2 separate regions of the Homo sapiens genome follow, and region 2 is linked to region 1. The links are contacts of gene promoters, found by promoter capture Hi-C in human tissues and cell types (Jung and others, 2019). All regions are on one chromosome and are shown on one strand. Each heading gives the region's core, a stretch centred on a gene start or on the middle of the fragment in contact. The rest is flanking DNA. Distances are from core to core; before and after follow the strand shown. Region 1 holds the start of ANKRD31 (ankyrin repeat domain 31). Region 2 overlaps ZBED3-AS1 (ZBED3 antisense RNA 1).

The links. The method cuts DNA at HindIII sites, captures the fragments that hold promoters and counts their contacts. A contact is called where the count stands out against the background at its distance.
Region 2: a contact is called between a fragment that was not itself captured here and the fragment with the promoter of ANKRD31 in region 1, in 1 of the 25 tissues and cell types used here (hippocampus).

Annotation. Positions count from the first base shown.
Region 1 is chr5:75,233,429-75,239,410 of GRCh38, forward strand. It overlaps ANKRD31 (ankyrin repeat domain 31), which reads right to left and starts at 3,450. Exons shown (of 26, transcript NM_001372053.1): 1 at 3,155-3,450. The coding sequence starts at 3,258. LOC124901006 (a long non-coding RNA gene) reads left to right here and starts at 3,610. Exons shown (of 2, transcript XR_007058823.1): 1 at 3,610-3,938. RefSeq lists an enhancer at 3,171-3,340 and a silencer at 3,391-3,690. The HindIII fragment of the contact is 20,855 bases long and covers 1-5,982 here.
Region 2 is chr5:77,130,079-77,136,060 of GRCh38, forward strand. The region is part of intron 2 of ZBED3-AS1 (ZBED3 antisense RNA 1); the gene reads left to right. It overlaps LOC124901008 (a long non-coding RNA gene), which reads right to left and starts at 1,050. Exons shown (of 3, transcript XR_007058827.1): 1 at 979-1,050. It also overlaps a transcript of PDE8B not described here. The HindIII fragment of the contact is 4,061 bases long and covers 1,449-5,509 here.

The DNA of each region.
Region 1 (5,982 bases), core at 2,200-4,699:
TAAATTTACATAAGTTTTAATATTTAAAGTATTTAATCTATTTCATATTTAATTCTTAGGCTTAACCAGGGCCCTATGAGGAGAAAGGCAGAATTTCTGCCCCTACTAAAATCTTAATTAAAAATAAAAAACTAATATAAATATGTTAATATTCTAATATGTAAACGTAAAAATTTAACATTATGCCAATAAAAGTACCAATAAGGGCCGGGCACAGTGACTCATGCCTGTAATCCCAGCACTTTGGGAGGCTGAAGTGGGGAGATCACTTGAAGTCAGGAGTTCGAGACCAGCCTGGCCATCATGGTGAAACCCCATCTATACTAAAAATACAAAAATTAGCTGGGCATGGTGGTATGCGCCTGTAGTCCCAGCTACTCAGCAGACCCAGGCAAGAGAATGGCTTGAACCTGGGTGGATGGAAGCTGCCGTGAGCTGAGATCATGCTACTGCACTCCAGCCTGGGTGATAGAATGAGACTCCGTCTCAAAAAAAAAAATAGTCCAGATTCTTTCCTAAGGAAATTATTTTTAAAAACCCCAACAATTTATGCTTAAGGAAATTATCTCAGAGTTATTTGCAATAACAAAAAATTAAAAACAAACTAAATGTTTTGTTTTAAAATCATATAATGCTTCAACAAATTATCCCTTTATGACAGAAAACTATCAATAATTTAGGGAAGAATTTTAATGACATTGCAAATGTTTAAAAATAATGTTAAGCGAAAACTGTAAACTTGTACAAATTGATTCAAACTTTGTAAAAGAATTATAGGTGCACACACAAAAGCCTACATAGAAAGCTGGAAGAAAATATACCAAAGTCTTAATACAAGTAGAATTAGGTCAGATTTCTATCTCATTCATGCTTCTTTTTATTGCTCATGTTTCCTATAGTGTTCCTGAATAGACAATATATTTATATGGTTCAAAATTCAAAAACCAGTATAGACTAGCCCTGATTACTCATGCTCATAGTCCTCACTACTCAGGGAGCTGAGGCAGGAAGATCACTTCAGCCTAGGAGTTAGAGGCTTCAGTGAGCTATGACTGCACTATTGCATTCCAGACTGGACAATAGTGTAAGATCCAGTCTCCAAAACAAACAATATAATAGGGTATGTAGTAAAATATCTCTCTGTCCCCTCAAATATAAGCTTTCTTTCCCACAGGCAACCAAGGTGTTTGATTGTTTTGTAATTCTTTCAGAGATATTTTCTAAGTGTATATATGTTGGAAGACAGAGGTAACACTATTTTCTAAAAACAGAAGCACTGTGTCAAAGAGTATATGTGTTTGTAATCTTGATAATTGAAATTTTTTGAGTTTTGTATTATAATTATATCTTTCTTCCTCTACAGTTATAAAAGAATCCCTTTTTGGCTTCTTGTAATACTTTTTGGTTTTTTTTTAACATTTACATCTTTGATTCATATGGAATTTTTTTGGAGTACAGTGTGAAATATGGATTCAACTAAACTATTTTCTACATACATCCTTCATCATCCCAATATCATTTTTTGAAAAATCCCATCATTTCCTCGCTGGTTTGAGATGCCACCTCTGTAATACACTAAATTCCCATATGTATGTGATTCTATTTTGGGGGTTTTTATGCTGTTTATTGATCTGTCACTTTATGTGCCAGTATCATATTTAAAATATTTTATATCAGAAAATATTTTAATATCCTATAGGTCATTACCTCCTTATTGTTCTTATTTTTCAGACTTTTCCTAATTGCTCTTATTTATTTTACGATATAAACTTTGGAATCAGTTGTCTAGTTCAACAGAAAGTCTTGCTGGTACTTTTTTTTTTTTTTTTTTTTTTGAGATAGAGTCTCACTCTGTCGCCCAGGCTGGAGTGCAGTGGAGTCATTTTGGCTCATAGCAACCTCTGCCTGTTTCTCATTACAACCAAAAACTCCGAATGAATATTTTTTAAAAACTACTCGAGAACCTTGAAAAGTAAACAATAGCAGGTAGATTGGGGACTGAAGTTGAAATCTTAATAACAACCCATTTATTGACGAGTTTCAGTTTGTTTTCGGTTTTTTGGTTCTTTTTTGTCTTTCAGCTTTGAACCATCCAGTGGGCACAGACAGTAAACCTATTTTTATCCAGAAGACCAAGGAAAATGACCCCTGCATGCCAGAAGGTATAGGACAAAGCCCAGGGCTTTATGTTGCTTTCTCTCTCACCTCCCAGCCCTGCCCCAAGGCTGGCCCTAGCCTCAGAGCAGACACCAACCATGGCAACTGGGGAACATAAAACTCAAGAGAAAGTGTCTACCAGAGGAACTGGGAAAAGGGATCGGTATTGCCTGAAAAGTGTGGACAGAATCCCCCTTTTTTCTCTCTTTTCTTAACTCTGTGCTAAAGGCTGTCCCCCTTGTAAGGAACTGCTGTATAGTGAAAAGGCTAACACTCAAAGAAACCTGTCTTTCTGATCATATGAACTGGCAAGTGGGTATGATGAGGAAAGGGGGCAGGAGAATCCTGGAGAAGAGAGAGAGGGAAAGGAGAATGACCTAATTCTGTGTACGATCCAACTTAAGTCCCAGACACAGCCCTGAGCACATATGAAGCAGACCTAGTGGCCTCATCCCTGCCCTCTTTTCCCTGTGTCTAGCACAGAGAATATGTTAGAGAAAGGTTTCGATAACCTGAAATACCGACTTTTTTGGATTCGTATAAAACTATTCGTTTCCAGTTTGGCAGGGACCAGTTTCCCCATCACACATTCTTTTCTTGAGAGAAACTGTTACCCATTTTCCTAGAACTGAGCTACGAGTCTCTTGAAGCAAAATGAAGTCTCCTGAAACAAAATGCAGTTAAGTTCAGACCCAAGATCTTTTTTGCTTGTGCAAAAAGACTTAAAGCCCCCAAAAGGAAAGCCTTTTGAAAAATGCTATAAAGCCACCTAGTACAAACCTCATTTTATCCCTAGCTGGTTGGGGGTAGGTGGGAACAGACTGTGTTTGCTTATTTACAAGCTCTCAGCTCAGGCACGGCTGCCCCACAAGGCTCTGATCCTGCCCACAAGCACATGTTCTGGTCACGATCTCCACTCAAAACTCTGACCCCCTCAGAGGGCACCTGGGCCGCCCTGGCGCGAGGGTTCAGGCACTGTGGCCCTAATGATGGTCACCTTCTCCAGGGCAGCTCCTTTTCTTCCAGGTCGCTCTCCGTCACTGAACCCTCTATCACAGTTTCATCACTGTCCCAGTCTGGGGCCTGGACGCCTTCCTCCATCTTTGCCTCACATTCAAAGTCTTTTTTACCCTCCTCTAACTCCCTCTTGCCCGCAAACAAAAAAACGCTTTGAGGGCCAGGGGAAATTGTGAATTAAAAATAAAAATAATATAATCGCAGCAGGAGCCGGGACTTGTCGCAGGGCTGCTGAGGAGGACGCAGGCGGCCGCGAGCGCGGCGGGGTAGCAGTCTGCGAGGCGGCCCGCGGGTCCCGCCGCTCGTCGCAGACAGGGGGCAGCCGCTCGCCACACGACGGAGCCCTGCGCAGCGCTCGGCCCCGCCCCCAGCTCCCGTGGCCGGAAGTGGGAGGCCGCGCGCGCGCGCGCAGGCCTACTCTGGGCGTGGCCTGCCGCTGCGTGTTTTTTTCACGGTTTCTCATTCTCGGTCGCTAGGCTTTGAGGGTGCTGGGGTTGCTGCTGCAGAGACCAGAAAGGCAGGCGTGGCGCACCCAGAACTCAGACCGAGCCTGCTTAACACCCTTGGCCGGGAGGGTGACCTGCCATGCACCTGATGCTTGTGAGCCCCAGATACGGGAAGAGCTGTCAGCTCCTGCCCGCCCCAGCAGCCCTGGCATTCTGGAGCCAGAATGCGACCTTAGACCTAAAGAGAGTTTTTGCAGCCCACCAAGTGCTTCCTTTCCCTTTAATCCCTTGACAGCCTCTCCTCAAGTGTCCTCTGAGGTAGACAAAACAGATACGTTTATCAGAAGTTTTAGCTCATCAACTAATCTCAGTGATGTATTTTGCATTTTTTTTTTCTCTCAACAACGCTTTGGTTACCTGAAATACAGATTATGCAGGAAAGGCAGGATAAATGCTTTATTTTTTCCTCTTTTATCAATTTTTATAATAATAGTAATGCCTAGCAACCTCCAAAAGTAGTCAATTGCGTTTTAATGAAGTACTAGAATTTTATATATTTGATGTGTTTCAGTCTAGTTGAACATTTTTAATTCAAACTAATTCAAAACAAAGCCAAGTGAGCTTCCACTTGCCAAGTGAGAAGAAGATTCAAGAAAAGACCAAGTTGTTTTCCCATAGCAAGTGTTTAGTATTCACCTTGGAGTCTCCAGCATCTAGCACATATAAAGTCTAAGTTTTGTCATAAATGGATGGAGCTAGAGATTTCTGACTTCCCAATTCATTGCCCTTTTCACTATATGGAGTAGCTTTGCCATTATTATCATTATTATTATTTTGTGTTTTTACTATGTATATTCAAGCCACTGCTATTTAAAATGCTTGATTGGTGATTATCTTCTAAACTTAACTTGAGGCTGGGGGTGGTGGCTCTACCTGTAACCTCAATGCATTGGAGGCCGAGGCAGGAGGATTGCTTGAGACCAGAAGTTCAAGACCAGCCTGGGCAACATGGTGAGACCCCTATCTCTGCAAAAAATTTGTTTTTAATTAGCAGGGCATGGTAGCATGGGCCTGTAGTCCCAGCTACTCAGGTTGAGGCGGGAGGATCGCTTGAGCCCAGGAGTTTGAGGTTATAATGAGCTATGATTGAGCAAACGCACTCCAGCCTGAGCAACAGAGTCATACCATGTCTCAAAAAATAAAAAAATAAACTTACTTGAATAAGTAACTTACTTAAATAAAATTCCTCGCCTCAACTCTGTAAATTAGGCAGAGCAATAATAAATATGCAAAGAACTAGACCTCTTTTTTATTTTTTTTAACAGTAGTCCATTTATACCCTCCGTGTCTAAATCAGACCTAAATTCCTATCACCTTTCCTGCTCACCCACTGTTTAATTAATTCATTAGCGCATTCTTCTGTGTTGCCCAAGCTAATCTCCAACTCCTGGGCTCAAGCTGTCCTCCCACCTCACCCTCCCAAATAGCCGGAACTACAATCTCATGCCACTATGCCCACTTCACCCATTCTTTTAATTATCCAACTCTGCTTTCACAGGAATTGGGGGATGCATACCCAGTAAATGGTGGTGAGTGGCTCCATTTGCCCCAGAGGGAAAGATGACTCCACTAGTAACAGTACTTGCTCCAAACAGCTGGTAACAAGCTAAGTGCAATAAGTCCTCACTTAATGTCTGTCGGTAGGGTCTTGGAAACTGCAACCTAAAACAAAATGACTTACAAGGAAACCAATTTTACCATTGTCTAATTGATATATATGAGAGTTAAGTTCTTACAACATATTTCTGGTCACAAAAACATTACCAAACTTGTAAATAAACACCAAAACACCTTTACTATTAAACATTGAAATAAACGTGAGCTATATATATATTTATTAAATATATATATTTAAGAAATATCTTAAATATATATCAGATATTTATTAAATATATATTTAATAATAAATATTTAATATATTTAATAAATATCTAAGATATATATTTAAGATATTTCTTAATATATTTAATATATATAATAAATATCTAAGATATATATTTAAGATATTTCTTAATATATTTAATATATATTTAATAAATATATATAAGAAATGTCATATATATTTAAGAAAGATTAATAAAAATATATATATTTAAGAAAGACTAATAAAAACAAATAAGATAATTATTTACCTAGTCATTCCAGTTCAGGGTTGAGAGTGGCTGGAGCCTATCCTGGCAGCTCAGGGCTCAAGGCAGGAGCCAACCCAGCACAGGAGGCCATTTCATTGAAGAGCGTGCTCACTCACACACACACACTCATTCTGAGACCAGTTAGATAAGTCAATGAGCCTAACATACAC
Region 2 (5,982 bases), core at 2,229-4,728, 1.9 Mb after region 1:
TATAGACCTCTGGATTTTATTTTGGGCACTGCATTTGAAAGGATATAATGGCAAACTGGAGTGGGGCGGGGGTGAGGGAGGGGAACTAACAGATAGGTCTGAGCAATATCTGATGAACAATTAACCATGTAGAAAAGAAGACCCAGGGGAGGCAGAGTAGCTATCTGCAAAAGTTGTGTTGAAATATAGCTGTGATTGGTGTGGGGAAGTTAGAGAAAGCAAATTTCAGCTTATTATAAGGTTAGATTAGAAACATCCAATAGTTAAACTAGACTGACTCATAAAGACGTTAGTTCTCCTTCCTGGGAGTCAGATAAATGCCAGGTAACATCTCTCAGGAATATACTTCGGGGCGGGGAGGGGAGTTCCTCATAATAGAAAACCCATCTAGAACACTTATTTTCTTCCAAGTACTCTTCTAAGCACCTTTCCCTTATTATTTATTTAACCCTCATGACAACCTTATGAAATAGGCACTTCAGATCCACAGCTTTTATCTGAAAACCTTAGGACCAAAATTCTTAATTTTTTGGATTTTAGAAAGGTATATGACACATACACCTTATGGTAGAAAACACCCCCATGGGGCTGTTCTCCATAATCAAATACATTGATATTTATACAGTGAGGCATGTGAATTTTTGCATTAAATGGAATACTTTTACATGAGTTGGGTTACGTTTTGTTGCCAAATGAGTTCAGATCATCTCTTCCCACCAAAAAATTTTGAAATAATTTTAGGTTTTTGCATTCTGAATTGTAGAAAAGAGATTATGGACACATATTGCTATTCCCAGTTTACTCATGAAGAAACTGAGGCAGAGAGATTAAGTAGCTTGCTCAAAGTCATATGACTTCCACCCAGGCAGAAATCAGGTTTGAGCCCTGCTCTTAAGCACTGTGTGGACTGCCTCTCCCTGTGCTCTTCTGCCTCCTCTCTTTGAGGGGTTGGGCTTAGTTACCTGCAATGTCTCTAACCTTGTGCCTTCGATTCCCTGACCTCTGACTTCAGCCAGCCTCACTGGTTCCAGAGCGATACTCAGAGCTGTTCTCAGATACCAGACTGGAATAAACGAGAGACATCTGGAGAAAGGAGACCTCTTCCTATCCCAACAGGACTGTGTTTCACAGGAGGCATTTTAGTGTTGTTGTTCCCCAATGGCTAGGCAGAGGCAGACAAAGAGAACATTGTGTATCATCATAATTTGTCTTCAATGACCTTTCTTTTTGTGTCATTCACCACCACCTGTTCCTCAAAACACCACCATGTGAACCCCAAGCCCAATGGCTCAGGCTTGCCCTCTTTCCACCCACGTTCCAGGATGGATTTTTCCAGGAACAGGACTAATGACTCTTAACTTTTCTTCTACCATCTAGAGATGGATTATAAGGTAGCAACCCAAGAAAGTGGGTTTGGACATTCAAATACTTGAGTTTAAGTCCAGATGTGCAAACTTGGGCAAAGCCATTTAACCTCATTCATCAACTTGTCAAATAGGAAAGATAATACTTACCCGGGATGAATTCCAGTTTTGGTGAGCTTGACATTTTCACTATTTGCTGGAGCCTTCTTTAAGCAAAAGAATAAAAATTTATGATATGAATTGGGTACAAAATTGTGCGTTTATTTAGAAACAATTCTCTTGTTCACATAAGGGGAAATATGATGCATTAGGAGTTGAAGTGATCTTAACAAAAGGCTTTTTTTGGGTATAATTTACAAAATTATACAACCATGTAAACTTATTGATAGGGCCCCTTTCCAGAGTTAGAAAGGGGTCCATTCAACAAACAGTCCTGCAACTTAGAATTCATTAACAGCAAGGTAAATTTGCTTCTGTATCAAACTCACAGAGTTGTAAGAATTGAATCACAAGATTAAATATATGCAAATGTGTTTTGTAATCATCAAACACGGTGCATAATTATTTTGATGCCTACAACTAAGCAAAAATATTTGTACCTAGAACAAAGCAAAAATATTTATTCAATAAATGATAAAATAGATGAAATTTGCTCTCACCAAAGTAGTATACAAGCTAATTGTATTACATTTCCCTAGGCCTGAAAAAATTTATCAGAGTAATATATGTACATATTTTTACACAACAGTCCAATATTGATAAAAGATTTGCAACCAAATAGAACAAGCCCATGTCCCACCCCTCATATTTTCTAATTCCACTTTCCAGACTCAATACATTTCCTCCATATTGCTAACTAATATGTGCTATATTGTTTTTCCTGATTTATCAACCTTGAATATTGTCTGGTGACTCTCTATTATGGCATTATTCACTTTCTTCTTCCCATTCTCTCAATATAGTTATAGGACAGTTCTTCTTATAATATGAAATATTGTTTATGGCTGAACAAAATAGTGGGCTATGATTTTACGTCCTTCTACATACCTCTAAATAATTGTGTTATTTTTCATTTGCTTAGTTTTCCATTTTACCTATACTTGGGTTTTCCCACTGTCTACAATAGCATTTTATGTATCTTTCCACTCAGTCAAATTCCCCACGCTGCAGAGAGCCATGGAGCCCTCCATCCCTCTGCTCCAGACTAGTCTTGCTGTCTTCTGTGCAACAATATGGAACTTCATGTGCTATCATGCTGGAAATTTCCATCATCTCTCTCCTAAACTGGATTTCCTATGTTTTCTATCTTCCTCTGTTTTGGTTGCGTCTTTTTGGTGGTTCTTATTCTCTAGTAGCTTCTAAGGAAAGGTCTATGGGAGGTACATTAACTGAGACTCTACATGTGCATATCTCAAAATATCTTTATTCTAGCCTTATAATTAACTGATAGTTTAGACGGATATGGAATTCTAGGTTTAAAACAATTTCACTCAGAATTTGGAAGGCATTTCATTGTCTTCTAGCTTCTGATATTGCTCTAGAGAAGTTCTGCCATTCTCATTCACAATCCTTTGTATCTGATGACTTTTCCTCTTTGGAGATGACCTATGATTCCACAATAACATGTGGTAGGTTAGATTATTATTCAAAATATTCACTTTTCTCCCTCACCCTGACTTACTTTGGCTAGTGGGATATTAGCAAGTATGTTGCAAGTAGGGGCTTGAAAAACACTTGTGTGGTTGGGCTTGTTTTCTTAGGCTTATGCCATCAGAAGCACAGAACAAACAGGCTGATGACTAGCCCACTGGTTCTAGAAGGAGGATGAGTAACACATGGAGCAAAGCCAAACCCTCCTGGCCAAGCTCAGCCTGAATCAGCAGAGCTGCACAGTGGAGCCCAGCTTGGATCTGCCAACACTCAGCTGATTCATAGATCAATGACAATAAACGACTGTTATTTTAAGCCACTGAATTTTTGGATGTTTGTCATATAACATTTTGTGGCAATAGCTTTTGGTATCAGAAATTAGTATCTAATTGGTATTAGAAATTGATATTTGTAGTGAGGTATAGGCACAAGAAAACAAAAAAATAAGTGGCATTGGTTTGGAGGCTGGATGATGGGCACAAGAAAACTGTTATAGGAGGCTGGAAAGAAAATGGTAATCTGTGTTTTGCAGGGATGAGACATTTTCTAAAACTGTCACCTTTGGTAACTTGGAAGTTAGCATATGTACCTAAAAATATTTGGATTTGTGCTGAGAAGTCTTCATGCACAATGATAAAAGTGTGAGCTAGTTGTATTTAGCTGCATATAATAGGTACTAGAGATGAGTTCAGAAAAGAACCAGCCAGGTTTCAAGGAACATGTAGGTGGAATGCAGGGAGCCCAAGAATTCTGGGACTTGCTGAGTTGGAAAATAAACTTTTGCATCTCCAATATAGTTGGCAAGTCAGCTATATTGGGCCTTCTGTCCTGGAAGGTTCCACAGTTCATCCTCACAGGGTTAGATACCTCTCCTGGCTTTAGATTTGCCTTTCCTTGCCACAGAGCTTCAGCAAGCCCCACTACCTGGGGCCGATCTGTAGTCATGGAAGCACACACAGCATAATATTGACCAGAGGATCACTTCATCGCAAAGGAGGCTTGGGAATAGGACAATGACCATGGGATCCACTGGTCATATCAGATACTGTATCACCTAGATGGAGCCAGCCTCATAAAGCATTGGAATGGTTACTAAAGGCACAGCTGGAGCTCCAGCTGGAGGCAATGCTCTGAAAGAACAGGGTACCATCCTGCAGGATGCACTGTATACATTAAACTGGGGTTCTCCATGTGGTGCTATGTCCTCAACAGGAAGAATACATGGGTCTGAGAACCAAGAAGTGGAAGCAGGAGTGGACCCACTTATCATTTCCAATGACCTCCTGGGGAACTTTGTGCTTCTTGTCTCTACAACTCTGGGCTCTATGAGATTAGAGGTTTTGGTCCTCAAATGAGGTGCAGCTTGGCAGGAGACACAGCAAGTGTCCCATTGAACTATATACTATGGCTGCCACCAGGGCATTTTGGACTCTTTCTATGAAGAGACCAGCAGGTGAAAAGAAGAAATCATTGACTTCCATCAGCAGAAAGAGGTGAGGCTGCCTGTACACAATGGGACAGGGAGGAAGGAATGTGTATGGATCCCAGGTGATCCCTGTGGTCAAGTTTTTCTGTAGTCTTGCCCAATCTGTGATGTGACTGCCAACAGCTAAGACCTTCTGGAATAAAGATAATGAAGATAATAAAGAGGGGGAGGGGAATTTAGATTGGATAGTGCAGGTAGGAGAAGATGACTATGGGTTGCGATCTCAAGACAACTGGCGGCACTAGGGGCTATAGTTCCTCCCATTAACTTCTCTCTTCTAAGTATTTCCTCAAGAAGAGGGCCCACAGGAGCCATGGGGAACTGGATCTATGGAGGAAAAGAAATGGACTGTGGCAGTCCTGGAGGTACACTGCTTAGATGTCCCTTTAAGATAGTCGGCCATGGAAAGCATAGCTGAGTGACAGCTACGTAGAGGCCATACTTCCCTTCGACTGCTCCCAGCTGATCACTGAATAAGATGAGGACAGTAGAGCCACTTGTGCCTACCTGATGTGAGGCTACTCTAATGAACAGCCTTTGCCTCAGACACTAACACTCCTTTGTTCTGGCTGGACACAGTGTCACAGTTTCTCAGAACTGTGCTGCAGCCTGAAGCTTTTCCTAGGCAGGACTTTCTTTCCTCTCTTCTTTCCCAGGTAGCAGACCTGCATTATATTCTTCTGCTCTGCATTCCTTTATCCTTCACAGGCATTTCTCCCAATAAATCTCTTGACTACCTAATCTCATCTTGACATCTAAGAGGATCCAAAATGACATAAATGCCACAGCATTTCTAATTGAAATAATAATATGACTTAGTATGGTTTGAATTCATTGTGCTGGACACTTGGGAGACCCTTTCAGTTGAGGGACTCAAGACTTTCAGCCAGAGGAATTTTTTTTTTTTTTTTTTTTTTTGAGACGGAGTCTCGCTGTGGCCCAGGCTGGAGTGCAGTGGCACGATCTCGGCTCATTGCAGCCTCCGCCTCCAGAGTTCAAGCAGTTCTCCTGCCTCAGTCTCCTGAGTAGCTGGGATTACAGGCACGCGCCACCATGCCCAGCTAATTTTTGTATTTTTAGTAGAGATGGGATTTCACCATGTTGGTTGGGCTGGTCTCGAGCTCCTGACCTCGTGATCCACCCGCCTCGGCCTCCCAAAGTGTTGGGATTACAGGCATGAGCCACCGTGCCTGGCTGGAATTTTTTTTTTTTTAATAGAGACAGGATCTTGCTATATTGAAAAGGCTGGTCTTGAACTTCTGGCCTGCAACGGTCCCTCACCCACACCTCAGCTGCTCAAAGTGCTGGGATAACAGGCATGAGCATTGGCAAATTTGAGGTGCCTGGCCTCAAAATTCTCTTTCTGGAACTCCTATTAGTTGGATGTTGACCCCCAGGATCAAGCTTCTAATTTTCCTATCTTTTTTCCTCTATTGCCCACATCTTTGTCTTTCAGTTCTGTTTTCTAAAAGACTTCCTCAA